Regions from separate parts of the Homo sapiens genome. Here region 2 is linked to region 1. The links are contacts of gene promoters, found by promoter capture Hi-C in human tissues and cell types (Jung and others, 2019). All regions are on one chromosome and are shown on one strand. Each heading gives the region's core, a stretch centred on a gene start or on the middle of the fragment in contact. The rest is flanking DNA. Distances are from core to core; before and after follow the strand shown. Region 1 holds the start of IL21R (interleukin 21 receptor). Region 2 overlaps IL4R (interleukin 4 receptor).

Evidence for each region. Contacts are between HindIII fragments. The study calls those that stand out against the background at their distance.
Region 2: a fragment that was not itself captured here is called in contact with the fragment with the promoter of IL21R in region 1 in 1 of the 25 tissues and cell types used here (lymphoblastoid cells).

What each region holds. Positions count from the first base shown.
Region 1 is chr16:27,396,066-27,403,423 of GRCh38, reverse strand. It overlaps IL21R (interleukin 21 receptor), which reads right to left and starts at 1,250. Exons shown (of 9, transcript NM_181078.3): 1 at 806-1,250. RefSeq lists enhancers at 619-738, 631-1,173. The HindIII fragment of the contact is 8,819 bases long and covers 1-6,614 here.
Region 2 is chr16:27,364,152-27,371,509 of GRCh38, reverse strand. IL4R (interleukin 4 receptor) reads right to left here. Exons shown (of 11, transcript NM_000418.4): 11 at 6,732-7,358. Among named protein-coding and RNA genes, the nearest start is that of IL21R, 34 kb to the left of the region's middle. RefSeq lists a silencer at 1,496-1,696 and enhancers at 3,710-3,789, 3,820-3,879, 5,253-6,452, 6,938-7,358. The HindIII fragment of the contact is 9,103 bases long and covers 1,098-7,358 here.

The DNA of each region.
Region 1 (7,358 bases), core at 1-2,500:
CCTCCTGGCTTTGAATGTCCCGCACCTGGTCTTCTGCCTTCACTGAGCAGAGACGTCATTCCTGCGGCAAGTCCTAAGTTCCCGCTCCCCAGGGCTCCTCCACCAGGAATGTTCTTCCTTTCCCATCCTTCAAGGCTCAGCCTCCACTGACCTCCCCACCCTCCTCTCCTCCACATGCACAGGGAACTGGGTTGGCCTCTTACCATCCGACCCGTTCCCCGTGCTTCATGAGAAAGATGCAGCGACAGCTCATGGGGTCACCTGGCTTGACTGCCCGACCTGCTACGTCCCAGTTGAGTCACCGAGGGAAAATCACTCTACCTCTCGCAGCCTCATTGCCTCATCTGCGAAATGGGCACACCAGCCATTGTTTTGAATGACTGGGTGGAATCAAGGTGGTAAGACATAGAAACTGACACAGAATGGGTCCCATCAGGCTCTACACCCATGCCCGTCACCTCCCGACTCAGCCGCCCAGAATCGGGTGATTGACATGTTATGTTTGGCTTGAAACTGGCTTTCCTTCCCCAGCCCGCTACATTTTGGAGGCTGGTTTTCAAGATAGAGGGTCGTCTCAGCCACATCCCTGCTGCTGGGCCCCTAAGCTGTGCTGAACAAGAGACCCCAACCTCATTTCTGCCCAGCCTCACTGCATGAATCTTCTTTGCCTCAGTGTCCCCAATTGTGACTTGGGCACAGTCCTCCGAGCCCTCCCACTGTGACACTAGATGCAGCAGGCAGGGAACAGTCCCTCCTGGGCAGAGAAGGCACCCTGGTCCCAGCAGAAAACCAGGGCTGGAATTACCTTCTGTTTCGGCTTCTTTCTCAGAAATCCATTCCGTGTGCTGGGGGCAGTCTGATGGGCTTCTGGGGGTGGCAGCTGGGTTCAGCGTGGGGGTGACAGATGAGGGTCTGAGAAAGCAGGCAGAGGCCTGGGGTGAGAATCCACACCCAGCCCGAGTCACCAATCAGGCTGTCATAAGACCTGTCACTCTGATGACGGGCAGCTGGGCCTCCAGGCAGGTGTCCCACAGAGCAGCAGACAGAGGAAAGAGACGGCAAGGAAGGTACCAGGCGGCCGCAGCAGGGATGCACGGGCCGCAGACAGACAGACACAGCTGCGTGGCTGTCAGCCACACTCAGGGAGAGGCAGGCAGAGGGCCAGACGCCGAGCTTACGGTCACTCAGCAGAGAGACGCCAGTGGGTCTGTCTGAGGCCGCTGGCTGCCACCCAGCCGCATGTGCAGAGTGGGGAGGAAGAGGAGGATGTGGTGAGCCGCTCCCCGCCAGCCCCGCCCACCCGCAGCTGGGCTCCTCCTGGGAGGGAGTGAGAAAGAGGTGGGAGGGGGCCTGGCCCCACAGCAGGCACCCACTGTCACCAAAGGTCACCTGCAAGTAAGACATTTGGGGCCATCGGGGTGACACTTCCCTCTTAGGGACCTGTGACATCATCCCCACAGGCCTCTCAGTCATAACCCATGAGGCAGGCAGTGCCTCCTGGAGCCACCACATTGCACAGATATGGAAACTGAGGCCAGAGGTGTGAAGATGTGGCACAGTTTCACCCGTGGACCCAGAGTCCTCAGTGGCCGACTCCAGCCCCTCAGCACAGAGAGAAGGACCAGAACCTTGCCCAAGGTCCCACGGAAGCCCCTTTTTCAGACTTTGCAAACCAGCCTGTTTCTTATTCCTGAGCCTTACCTGCCTAATAGGGTCTGAGCTTGGGACCCTCTGCTCTGGCTTGACCCCCATGCCTCTCTGCCTCCATTTCCTTTGGATCCAGTCTCCTGCTGCAGAGCTCCAGGGAGCAGGACCCCTTGGGCACGTCACATCACCTCTCTGAATGCCTCACTTTGCCCATCTGTCAAATGGGGGCACCTAGCTATGAGGAAGAGGGCAGACATTAACACATGAGAATTCAAGAAGAAAATAGAGAAAAGAAATTCTCAAGAGAGTTTTCATCTTGCTAACATGCCAGAGGCCCATGAGAGGGTCAGATGTTTCTGGAAGACATTCAAGAAACCAGGAGACAAAATGTAACAAGCTTAATGCCTAGTGCAGTCTCCAAAGGAGAGCAAGAGAATTGCTACCACCACCACCGCTACCACCACCACCACTACCACTGCCATCACCACCACCTCGAATTACTTTGGTGCCTACATGATCTCACTTTATCCCACAAAGTGTGAGGCAGACAAGATTAGTCCCATTTTACAGATGGAGAGACTGAGGCCCAGAGGAGTGAAACGTCACACAAGCCAAGAAGAATTAGAGCTGGGATTTGAACCTGGGTGTGTTTGATTCCTAAGCTTATACCAGGCTGTGAAAACGGGGCCATACCAGGATGAAATGTCCCACAGTTGGGGGAGGCTATTTTATGCTGTTTTGATAACAAGATGCAATTTGTAGCTCTCCCTGCTGACTCATTTTTGGGAATCAACTTGCTGTTGACTTTCGTGACCACTCCAGAGAAAAAAGAGAAAGCGTCTTGCTATTCTTTCTTTCTTTTTTTTTCTAGCTGTTTTTGAGGAACTTGGTACAAATTCCCCTGTGGTTGATTTGAGGGATCCTGGCCCTGTAGAGCTCTTCCCAGCTACCGAAGTGTGTCGTGTTCTCTGGAGAACGAACCTTGGGAAGACACCAGCTTTTGTTTTTCTTTCTCTTGATCTTCGGGGTGAATTCTCTGATAACATGCACTGAAATTTGTAGTGGTTGAAAGATCAGGAGAAGAGACAGTAAAAAGAGCTAATATTTGCTGAAAGCTCATTGTGTGCCAGGGTTTTAAGGACTTTAAAGATGCACCCTCTCATTTAAACCTCAGAAATACTCGAGAAGGCTGTGTGCAGCGGTGCACACCTATAATTCCATCATTTTGGGAGGCTGAGGTGGGAGGATCGATTGAGGCTAGGAGTTCAAGACCAGTCTGGGCAACATAGCAAGACCCTGTCTCTATAAAAAAATTTAAAAATTAGACAGTCATGGTGGTGCACGCCTGTAGTCCCAGCTACTCTGGAGGCTGAGGTGGGAGGACCACTTGAGCCAAGGAGCTGAAGGCTGCAGTGAGCTATGACTGTAGTGCTGCACTCAAGCCTGGGCAACAGAGCAAGACTCTGTCTTCAAAAATAAAATCCCCAAAATGAAAAAGAATGAGTCTAGAAGATAGTTATCATCATCATCATCATCGTCCCTGTTTTACAGATGAGGAAACTGAGGCTCAGAGAGGTTAAGTGACTTGTCCAAGGTCACACAGCTGATGAGTGCCAGAGTTGGGATTTGAACTCAGTCATTTGGGCTCCAGAGCCCGCACTCTTAACTCACTACACTGCTCTGGGGTGTGTATGAAAACAAGGATATTCAATTTCTCCTCCCTCCCTCCTGCCTGCCTTCTTTATCTACCTGCTTTCTACCCACCCACCTACCTATCCACCCATTCATTCTTCTCTGCACCCACCCACCCAGCCATTCCTTGCTTCCTCCCCCTAATATTTATTGAGCAGGCTCAGAGAGGTTAAGTGACTTGTCCAAAATCACGCAGCTTGGCTACATCCTGGGGCTAGCCCACAGAAATATACACACAGTGACAGCCCCCATGGAGCCTATATTCTAGTAGGGAGAGTTAGACAAAAAGAAGTAACAGACAAACTCAATGTAAACTGTACTAAATGTCATAGAAAACCAATGAGAGATCAAGGTTGTGACATTTGGGGGTACACTAGGTGCTAAGAAGTGCCCAGCCATGGGAAGAACATTATCGGCAGAAGGATCTGCAAGTGCAAAGGCACTGAGGTAGGAAAGAATGTGGCTGGCTCCAGGAACTTGAGAACAGCATGGCGTAATACAGTGAGCAAATGGAGGAATAGTAGAAGGTGAAGGCACGGAAATCACACATCTACACCACATGGGACCTCACGGTTTTGGGTGAGGAAGGTAGATTGTTCCAAAGGAAATGGGAAGTCATCATTGGAGGGTTTCATCTTAAGAGTGGCTTAATCCAGTTTACATTTTCAGTTCAGGCCAGGAGTTGGGGAATGGGTGGGATCAGCAGGGGTCACAGTCCCTTGGTGCTTAAAAAGTAGATGCATTTGGAGCTGCCAGGCCCATGTCCACTGGGGTAAACATGAGTCCCCTCAGAAATAGACATGTGGTCCCTTGAGGGGTTCCTCTGGGTCTGTAAATGTCTCATAAGTATGGCCTCTATACCCTTGGAAGGAAGGTGCCATAGGATCTCAGCGGCCCTCCAACCATGCCTCAGTGCTGATAGCTGGTCAGCGGGGAGGAAGTGGTCACATTTGCATTTCAGCCAAGGGGCCTCCTGGGAAAAAATAATTGACACACCCCCTCCCTCAACCCATTTCCTCTTTTTTATTTTTATTTTAAGAGCTTTATTTAGCTATGTTTTACATAACATAAAATCAAGCCACTGTAAATGTACAGTTCAATGATTTTTAGTGAATTTATCGAATTGTGCAATTATAACCACGATCCAATTTTAAAACAATCCCATCACTCCTGAAAGGTTCCTTGTGCCTGCTTATAGTCAATCTCCATTCCCATTCCCAGGGCCACTCGTCTACTTTATGCCTCTACTGATTTTGCTTTTTTTTTTTCCTAGGCATCTCATATCAATATGTTGTCTTTTGTGTTTAGTTTCTTTCAGCATCGCGTGTTTGGGGTTCAACCACGTTGTAGCGTGTGTTGGCACCACATATCTAAAAATCCATTTTTAGGCCAGGCGCGGTGGCTCATGCCTGTAATCTCAACACTTTGGGAGGCCAAGGTGGGCGGATCACTTGAGATCAGGAGTTCGAGACCAGCTTGGACAACATGGTAAAACCCCGCCTCTACTAAAAAATACAATAATTAGCCTGGTGTGGTTGCACACGCCGGGAGATTGAGACCAGCCTGGCCAACATGGTGAAACCCTGTTCTACTAAAAATACAAAAATTAGTTAGGTATGGTGACGTGCACCTGTAGCCCTAGCTACTCAGGAGGCTGAGGCAGGAGAATTGCTTGAACACGGGAAGTGGAGGTTGCAGTGAGCAGAGCTAGTGCCACTGCCCTCCAGCCTGGGAGACAGAGCGAAACTCCATCTCAAAAAAATAAAAAATAAAAATTGATTTTTATTGCTGAAGAATATTACATTGCATAGATATGCCACATTCATTTATCCTTTCATGAGATGATGGACATTTGGAGTATGTCCACTTTTTCCTTTACTACAAACAAGCATGCTATGAACACTTGCATGCGAGTCTTTGTGTAGACATGCATTTTCAAATCTTTTGGATATATACCCAGAAGGAGACTTGTTGAGTTAAAGGTAGTTTAACTTATTAACTTTTAAATAAGTTTAACTTATTAAGAAACTGACAAACTGTTTTTCACAGCAGCTGCCCTGTATTATATTCCCACCAGCAATGTCTGAAGGTTCCCATTTCTCTACGTCCTTGACAATATGTATTTTCTTTTTTTTTTTTTTCTTTTTTTTTTTTTTTTTGAGATGGAGTCTCGGTCTGTCGCCCAGGCTGGAGTGCAGTGGCGCGATCTCGGCTCACTGCAAGCTCCGCCTCCCGGGTTCACGCCATTCTCCTGCCTCAGCTTCCCGAGTAGCTGGGACTACAGGTGCCTGCCACCACGCCTGGCTAATTTTTTGTATTTTCTTTTGTAGAGACGGGGTTTCACCGTGTTAGCCAGGATGGTCTCGATCTCCTGACCTCGTGATGCGCCCGCCTCGGCCTCCCAAAGTGCTGGGATTACAGGCGTGAGCCACCGCACCCAGCAGACAATATGTATTTTCTGTTGGTTTTTATTATAGCCATCCTAGCGGATGTGAAGTGGTATCTCATTGTGGTTTTGATTTGCATTTCCCTAATGGCTAATGATGGTAAGCATCTTTTCATGTGCTTGGTAGTCATTTGCATATCTTGTTTGGAGTAATGTCTATTGAAGTCCCTTGCCAAATTTTATTTATTTTATTTTTTTTTTAGACAGAGTCTTGATCTGTCTCCCACACTGGAGTGCAGTGGTGTGATCTTGGCTCACTGAAACCTCTACCTCCTGGGTTCAAGCGATTCTTGTGCCTCGGCCTCCCGAGTAGCTGGGCTTACAAACGTGTGCCACCATATCCAGCTAATTTTTGTGTTTTTAGTAGAGACGGGTTTTCACCATGTTGACCAGGCTGGTCTCGAACCCTTAACCTCAGGTGATCCGCCCACCTCAGTCTCCCAAAGTGCTGGGATTACAGGCATAAGCCACCGTGCCCAGCTCCTTGCCAATTTTTAAATTTGATTGTTCATCATTTGTTGTTGAATTTTAAGAGTTCTTTGTATATTCTGGAAACTCACCTTTATCAGATATATGAATTACAAATATTTTTCCCATTCTGTGGCTGTCTTTTCACTTTGTTGATAGTGTGCTTTAATGCAAAAAAAATGAAAAAAAATTGACTATAGATTCATGGGTTTATTTCTGAACTCTAAGTTCAATTCCATTGATCTATATGTCTAGCCTTGTGCCAGGATTATCACACTGTTTTGATTACTGTAGCTCTGCAGTAAGTTTTGTTTTGTTTTGTTTTTGTTTTTGTGTTGTTTTGAGACAGAGTTTCGCTCTTGTTGCCCAGGCTGGAATGCAATGGCACAATCTTGGCTCTGCAGTAAATTTTAAAAATGGGAATTTGAGTCCTCCAACTTTATTGTTTTGGCTTTTCTGGGTCCCTTGAAATTTCACATGATTTTTAGGATCAGTTTTTCCATTTTTTAAAAAAGGCCATTGGGACTTTTATAGGAATTGCATTAAATCTATAAATTACTTTGAGGAGTGCAATGTTAAATCTTCCATTACATTAACATAGAATTTAAAAAACTTTATTTAGGTCTTTTCTAATTTTTTCAGCAATATTTTATAGTGTTCAGTGTACAAATCTTGCACCTCCTTGGTTAAATTTATTCTTAAGTATTTTATTATTTTTGATGCTATTATAAATAGAATTTATTTAATTTCCTTTTGGGGTTGTTTATTGCTAGTATATACAAACACAATTTATTTTTGTATGTTGATCTTATACCCTGTCACTTGGCTGAATTTATTAGCTCTAATAATTTCTTTGTGCGTTCTTTAGAATTTTCCATATATATGATCATGTCATCTGCGAATAACAGTAGTTTTTACTCTTTCCTTTTCCCATTTGAATGCCTTTTATTTCTTTTTCTTGCTGAATTGTTCTGGTTAAAACTTTCAGTGCAATGTTGAATACCAGTGGTGAAAGTGGGCATCCTCTTTCCTGATCTTGGTGGAAAAGTTTTCAGTCTTTCACTGATTTAGTGTGATGTTAGCTTGTTAGCTGCGGGTTTTTCTT
Region 2 (7,358 bases), core at 4,400-6,899, 36 kb after region 1:
TTTTTAGTAGAGACGGGGTTTCACCATATTGGCCAGGCTGGTCTCAAACTCTTGACTTCGAGTGATCCGCCCACCTTGGCCTCCCAAAGTGCTGGGATTACAGGTGTGGGCCACTGCGCCTGGCCAAGAATTTCAAAACTGGGACTTCAGAGCATGACACTGAAGAGTAGGGGTCCTCCGAGCAGGGGGGTACGGGCTGCTGCCTGGCGCACAGCTGTGGAGCCAGCCTGCCCTACGTCCACTCTAACAAGAAAGGGTGGATGCCGATATGGAATGGGCAGGAATTTGGCAGGATCCTCTGGAAGTGAAGATTGAGTGCCAATAAAGAGGGAGAGGATGGGGATTGGGGAAGGAGCTTGAGGAAGAGTCCAGAGCCTAAAGTTGGATGCGTGAATGCACCTGCACGTTCATTTCCCATTGCTTCTCTGACAAATTTCCACAAGTTTAGTGGCCTAAAACTGAAATTTATGATCTTGCAATTCCAGAGGTCAGAAGTCTGAAACTGGTCTCACTGAGCTCAAAATCAGGGTGTTAACAAGGCTGTGTTCATTCCAGAAACTCTAGGGAAGTCTGTTCCTTGACTTTTCCAGTTTCAAGTGGTCACCTGCATTCCTTAGCCCATGGCCCTTCCCTCCATCTTCAAAGCCAGCAGCATAATATTTTGAAATCTCTCTCTGACTTGGCTTCTCCTGCATCTCTCACTTATGAAGATCCTTGGGATTATATTGGGCCTGTCTGGATAATTAAGGATAATCTCCCTCTACATCTCAGGTTCAGTTGATTAGCAACCCTGCTTCCATCTGTAACCTTAATCCCCCCCTTGCCATGTAATGTAACATGTTCACAGGTTCCAGGGATTGGGACATGGACATCTTGGGGGGTTCATTATTGTACCTACTACAATTTTTAAGGTTGCTTTATGACTGCAAAAGAAAACTCACAGTGGTTTAAAGAAAAGCACACTTACAGTTTATTTAAGAATTTAAGGTTGGTTTGATCACTTGGTGATGTAATCAAAGCCCCAGGCAGGCCTTCTTCTTCTTCCACTCCACCATATTCAGAATGCCTCCTTTCATCTCCAGGCTTGTCTCCTCATGATTGCAAAAGCACCATCCAAAGCAGAAAGGAAGGTGGCAAAGGAGCCTTCTCCTCCATGCTGCTTTTTGATTAGGAAGGAGAACTGCTGACTTGCTCTGTGGTTCCATGGCAGAGAGGAAGGTCAGGCAGCCCAGCTATGTTGACCAACTCAAGCTAAATTTGCTGCTAGAAATCAGGAAATCATGGATGGTGGTGGAAGGGGGAGGATGCGTAGGGCCTGGTGTGCCCAGGGCAGAGCAGCAGGTGGCCAAGAGCCTGTCCCAGGAAATGCCAGTTCCTGGGTGGGATCACGCTAAGGTGGGTCATCAGTATATAGGAGTGGTGGTTCAGGGCAGCCAGAATCAGAGATCAGCCTATAGCTGGGATCAAAGATCCATCTGTGGTGAGGGTCAGGGGTCAGCATGTGGCTGGGGCCAGCCTGCAACCAGGATCATGAGTAAGTCAGTAACATGGGTCGGGACTCAGTTCCTGGCTTGAGTCAGAGCTGTTCTGTGGCTGAGGACAGGAGGTGGACTGTGGCCAGGATCAGAAGTCAGTCTGTGGCTGGATCAGGGTCATTCTGTGGTTGGAGTCAGATATCATAATGGAGTTGGGATCAATCAGTTTAGTCTTCTCTGTCTGTCTTTCTCTCTGCATCTCTGCTTCTCTCTGTCTCATTCTCCTTTGCTGTAAACACCTGTTGGAAGCTCAGCAACTTGGGTCCATGGGGAAGAGGGAAGTTGAGTCTGGGCAAGGTCCTATAAGTCCCGGTATGGAAGAACATAAGGGAAAAAGAGAAAAATGTCAGGAATATAAAGATATTCCCTAGAAAAATGTCAGGAATATAAATATATGTATGTATGATGAGAAATGAATGATATAAAACCGCAAATACGCAAACACTGACTCTGCATGTAAACAACACACAGAAGTGGCACAAACAGATACAAACACAAGTGGGTTGAATGATGGGATTGGGACAATTTTTTGTCCTGGATTACTGTTGCTCCATTCTGCCCTTTTTGTAATAAAGTCAAATTAAATTTAGAATGTCATTATTTCCTCTAATTATGTTTTATACCCTCACCTCCCACAAAATCCACAGACATATTCAGTGTAATATTAAGGATAATGTTAGCAGACTAGGCATGGTGGCTCACATCTGTAATCCTAGCACTTTGGGAGGCCGAGGTGGATGGATTGCTTGAACCCTAGGAGTCTGGGACTAGCCTAGGCAACATAGTGATTCCCTGTCTCTACAAAAAATTAAAAAACAAATTAGCCAGGCTTAGTGGTGTGTGCACCTGTGGTCACAGCTACTTGAGAGGCTGAAGTGGGAGAATCACATGAGCCCAGGTGTTCAAGGCTGCAGTGAGCCGGGATTGGGCCACTGCGCTCCAGCCTGGGTGACAGAGAAAGACCCTGTCTCAAAAAAAAAAAAAAAAGAAGAAGAAGAAGAATGTTAGCAAATACTTTTAAGGCATTAACTATTTGCAGGCATAGTTCTTTTTTTTTGAGACAGAGTCCCACTTGTTGCCCAGGCTGGAGTGCAGTGGCACAATCTCCGCTTGCTGCAACCTCTGCCTCCTGGGTTCAGGCAATTCTCCTGCCTCATCCTCCCGAGTAGCTGGGATTACAGGCACCCGCCACCATGTCTGGCTGATTTTTGTATTTTTAATAGAGACAGGGTTTCACCATGTTGGCCAGGCTGGTCTCAAACGCCTACCTCAGGCAATCTGCCCACCTTGGCCTCCCATAGTGCTGGGATTACAGGCGTGAGCCACTGTGCCCAGCCGCAGGCATAGTTCTAAGGACCTCACAGGTACTAACATATTTAATTCTCACAATAGCTACATGAGGCAGATATTATAATGATTCCCATTTTACAGATAACGAATCAAGCACAGAGAGGTTACACGCTGGCCTGGCGCCACACAGCATATCTAATGGACATTAGGCTCTTTTGTCTGGTGCTGGGGGAATTTCTGGAAAATGCAGAGATGGAAGAGAGGTGGGATCGGGGCAGGGCGGGTGGGGAATCTCCCAGGCCAAGTTTTCTGGGCACGGCCTGGACCTGGAGCTGCTGGGATGGAGCAGGTGCTGATGCTGATGTGGTCACCAGAGGGCAGCAGGGACCAGGGAGCTGACTTCCTCTTCACACCCCCTCCACCCGGGGCGGTGCCCCTGACTTGTCAATAAACGTCGTGGAAACAGGTGGGATTTGGTGGAAGAACTGACACGGTCCCGCCACCATCACAGGCAAGTTAAGCTTGAGAGCAGCCTGGTGTCACCTGGCCTCCACCCACCACGTCATCTGCTGCTCACCCCACCACTGTGGCGTGCAGAGTACTGCTCTTGTGTGCCTTTTACCAAGGAGGAAATTTAGGCCCAGAGTGGGCAAACACTTTTCCCATGGTCACACAGCTTGGAATTGGAAAGGCTGGACCTAACCAGGCAGGGTGAGCGCAGAGCCCTTGTTCCTCTGAGTCTCTGTTCTGAGCTGGAACCAGGGAAGATGATGAGCCCATGGTATATACAGGGCGGTTAGCTAGGACTCTGGTTTGAAGCCTGGCTATGCCACTCGGTAACAGCACATCGTGGGCAAGTCCCATGCAGCCTCATCGGCTGCCGGGAGGATCCAGTGACGTCAGGCCTCCCTCGTGGTGGGAGCTCAAACACTTGCTGGGTTTTTTGTTTTTTCGGTGTTTTGCTTTTTGTTTTTTAATTAATAACTTTCGTGGGAAAAATAAAGTCAGAAAGGTTGTTCAACCGGATGTTCACGGAGATACTACGCCTTCAAAAACAAGCGCTCATTTCGTGATCGCCCACACAGTGCCAGATGCTGGGGCGGGGATGGGATTTCCGGTGGTTTTTCTTCACTTTCCTCTTTATATCTTCAGGCTTTCTCTGAATAGGAAAAGGTCTGCACGTGCTGATAGAGTAATCAGAAAAATGCAATAAGCCACTTTTTGTAAAAAAAAAAAAAAAATTCAGATGCACTCACTGCCTTCCTCCCCCCTTTCCCCCTCCCCTCATCCCCCACAAATTCTGTGTAAAGGCAGGGCTGAGGGAGTACCCCCAAATCAACATCTCTGAAAGCTCCCCCGCAGGGGCCCAGGCCACTCAGCCCACTCTGGCGCTGCTACCCAGGGGCGTCCCCTCCTGCCCTCTGGTCCAGCCCCGGAGGCTGAAACTCCCGCAGCCGGCATCTCACTGGGCCTATGACCCTGGACTTTTCCTACTTCCTGCAGGGTGGGGGCCAGCCTGAGTTGGGCCCACCTGATCCACCAGGTCTTCTCATCCCTCTGTAGCTTCCCAAAGCCCAGCCAGTTCAGTAATAGTTGCTGAGGCCAACAACTTGGATTTCTTTTGCCTAAGATCCTTTGTTGGGCTCCCAGTCCCATTGCATCTCTAGCAGTCAAATATATTTTCTATTTGCTGCCTAATTTTTAAATTAGATTTCTCTGAGACAATGCTCAGGCAAAGTGGATTCGAGCCGACATCTGCGTAGGTGTCAGGATGACATAAGCTGATATATCACGGCGGCTGGGAGCTCTTAGGTCAGACCCGGGTTCAAATCCTGGCTCCAGGATTTCCTAGCTGTGTGGTTCTAGGCTAATCCTCAACCTCTCTGGACCTGTTTCCTTATCTGTAAAATTGGGATAATCATTGAGCCTCCCAACTAGAGCTGTTTGGAGACGTAAATGACACAGTGGCTGGACGGCACTTAGCATATTGCTTGGCCCTAAACAGATAACTATTTTTATTTAAAATTATATTTTATTATAAAGAGCTTTTGGAGGCAAGAAGTCCAGAAGGCTAGTTCAGGCTCTGCCATTCTCTGGGTGACTTTGGGCAAGTCCCTTTTCCTCTCTAAAACTGTTTCTCCATCTGTAAACTGTGTGATTTGGGCAGCTAAAGGGATTGATTTTGGCTTAGAACAAGGTTTTTTTTGTTTTTTTTTTTTTTTCCTGAGACAGGGTCTCACTCTGTCATCCAAGCTGGAGTGCAATGGCACAATCTCAGCTCACTGCAACCTCCGCGTCCCAGGTTGAAGCAATTCTACCAACTCAGCCTCCCAAGTAGCTGAGATTACAGGCACCCACCACCACACCCGGCTAATTTTTTATTTTTTGGTAGAGATAGGGTTTCACCATATTGGCCAGGCTGGTCTTGAACTCCTCACCTCAAGTGATACACCCGCCTCAGCCTCCCAAATTGCTGGGATTACAGCCATGAGCCATCATGCCTGGCGCAAGGAGGTGTTTCTAACAAACATCAGGCTGCATGTGAGGTAGAGAGCTCCCCATCATTTCCAGTGTAGTATGTAGGCTCCTAGAGCAGGAAGGAATCTAAAATGGCCAAGCCCCTCAAGTGTGAAATCAGGGCAGCTACTCAGAGAAGCAAAAGTGATACAGACATAGGAGCTTCAGGTTCCCAGCCTTCCCATCTAAGGCCCACACCATCCCTCTGCCTGCCTCGGATGTGAAGCGCAGATCACTACAGAGAGCCTGGGTGATGGAGACACTGTCTGGATTCCACTATAGATCTGTTGCTAACTAGCTGTGTGACCTTGGCAGTGTATCATCAGCCACTGTTGGTGTCCTGTTCCTGTCTTCTTGGTGTGCCAGAGTCTCTCAACACCTCCAACTCTCAGTTGAAGAATTTTTTTTTTCCTGGAGTAGCTGGAAGTGCTGGAGAATTAATGCTCCTGGAAGCAGCTCTCAGCCAATGACAGATGGGAGCTGGTGGACAAATACCCCAGCTCCCTCTCCTTTGCAGGCATAACTGGGCATGTGCCATGCATGGTCTTCCAGAGATCCCCGGCAGGTAAGCATCAGTTACTCATGCTGGTAATCTGTTGAATAACTCACCCTTTTGTCAGAGGTTTATTTAAACTGGAGCTTTGAAGAGGGGCTGGGTAAAATGAGGCTGAGACTTACTGGGCTGCATTCCTGGGAGGTTAGGGCATTCTTAGTCATAGAATGAGACAGGAGGTCGTCACCGATACAAGTCATAAAGACCTTGCTGATAAAACAGGTTGCAGTAAAGAAGATGGCTCTAACCCACCAAAACCAAGATGGCAACAAGAGTGACCTCTGGTTGTCCTCACTGCTACACTCCCAACAGCGCCATGACAGTTTACAAATGCCATGGCAACATCAGGAAGTTACCCTATATGGTCTAAAAGGGAGGCATAATAATCCACCCCTTGTTTGGAATATAATTAATCAATAACCATAAAAATAGGCAGCCAGCAACCCTCAGGGCTGCTCTGTCTACGGAGTAGCCATTCTTTTATTCCTTTACTTTCCTCATTAACTTGCTTTCACTGACTCTATGGACTCGCTCTGAATTCTTTCTTGCATGAGATTCAAGAACCCTCTTTTGGGGTCTGCATCTGGACCCCTTTCAGGTAACACTTTCTTGGTTTGTGTCCTTCCCTGCCTCAGTTCCCCACTACCTTAGCAGGGTTTCCCGGGATTACTTCCTAAATCAACTATTTGAATCCTTGTATGGGGAACCCAAACCCAGATGGCAAGTTTCTTAACCTCTTGCATCCTGGTTCCTCTGGATGGGTGAATTCCAGGAGTTAACAGAGACACAGCACTCACAGCAGTGTCTGGAGGTATGTTTGGTTAATACATAAAAAATAAAGAGACAAAGAAACTTTATTTATACAAAACTCCACCCCTTCTGTTCCACTCTCCTCAGCAAACACAGATAACAGGTGATGAAACTAAAACACACAGACGAGCATTACTCAACCCAAGGTTCCCGCCTTCCCTAGCACCTGAGGTCTGGGCCAACATGCAGGGTAACTGGTGCCTTATGCCTGCTGTCTGGATTGCCCGGCCCACAGGGTGGCTGAGCATATTTATTCTGGGGGTTCCATGCATACGAGGAGCCCCCAGCCATACAGCTGGGCATGGGTGTTTGGCAGCAAATTGTCCCTGCTTTAGTCATAGCAATTTTTCATGTCCTCTGTTGCTCCCCTTAACTGAACACCCCTTGACAGCCGGGATTCTGCCTCCAGCATCAACCTAAGGAAGCTCTGTTAAATGAATGAGCACCTCTAGGCAATGACCACCCTCCCTGAAGTTCAATTTCTCATCGATTTCCCAAGGCCGCCCAAGTCATTCCCTTGATGGCTGTGTTAGTTTCTAGGCTCGGCTTCTAGTTCAGTGAGACAGAGGCAGGTGGGCCTCCACGTGGGCCATGATCTGGTGGGCAAAACATGCCTTGGGCAGTTACAACAGGGACAGTCTGCTGCAGAAGCT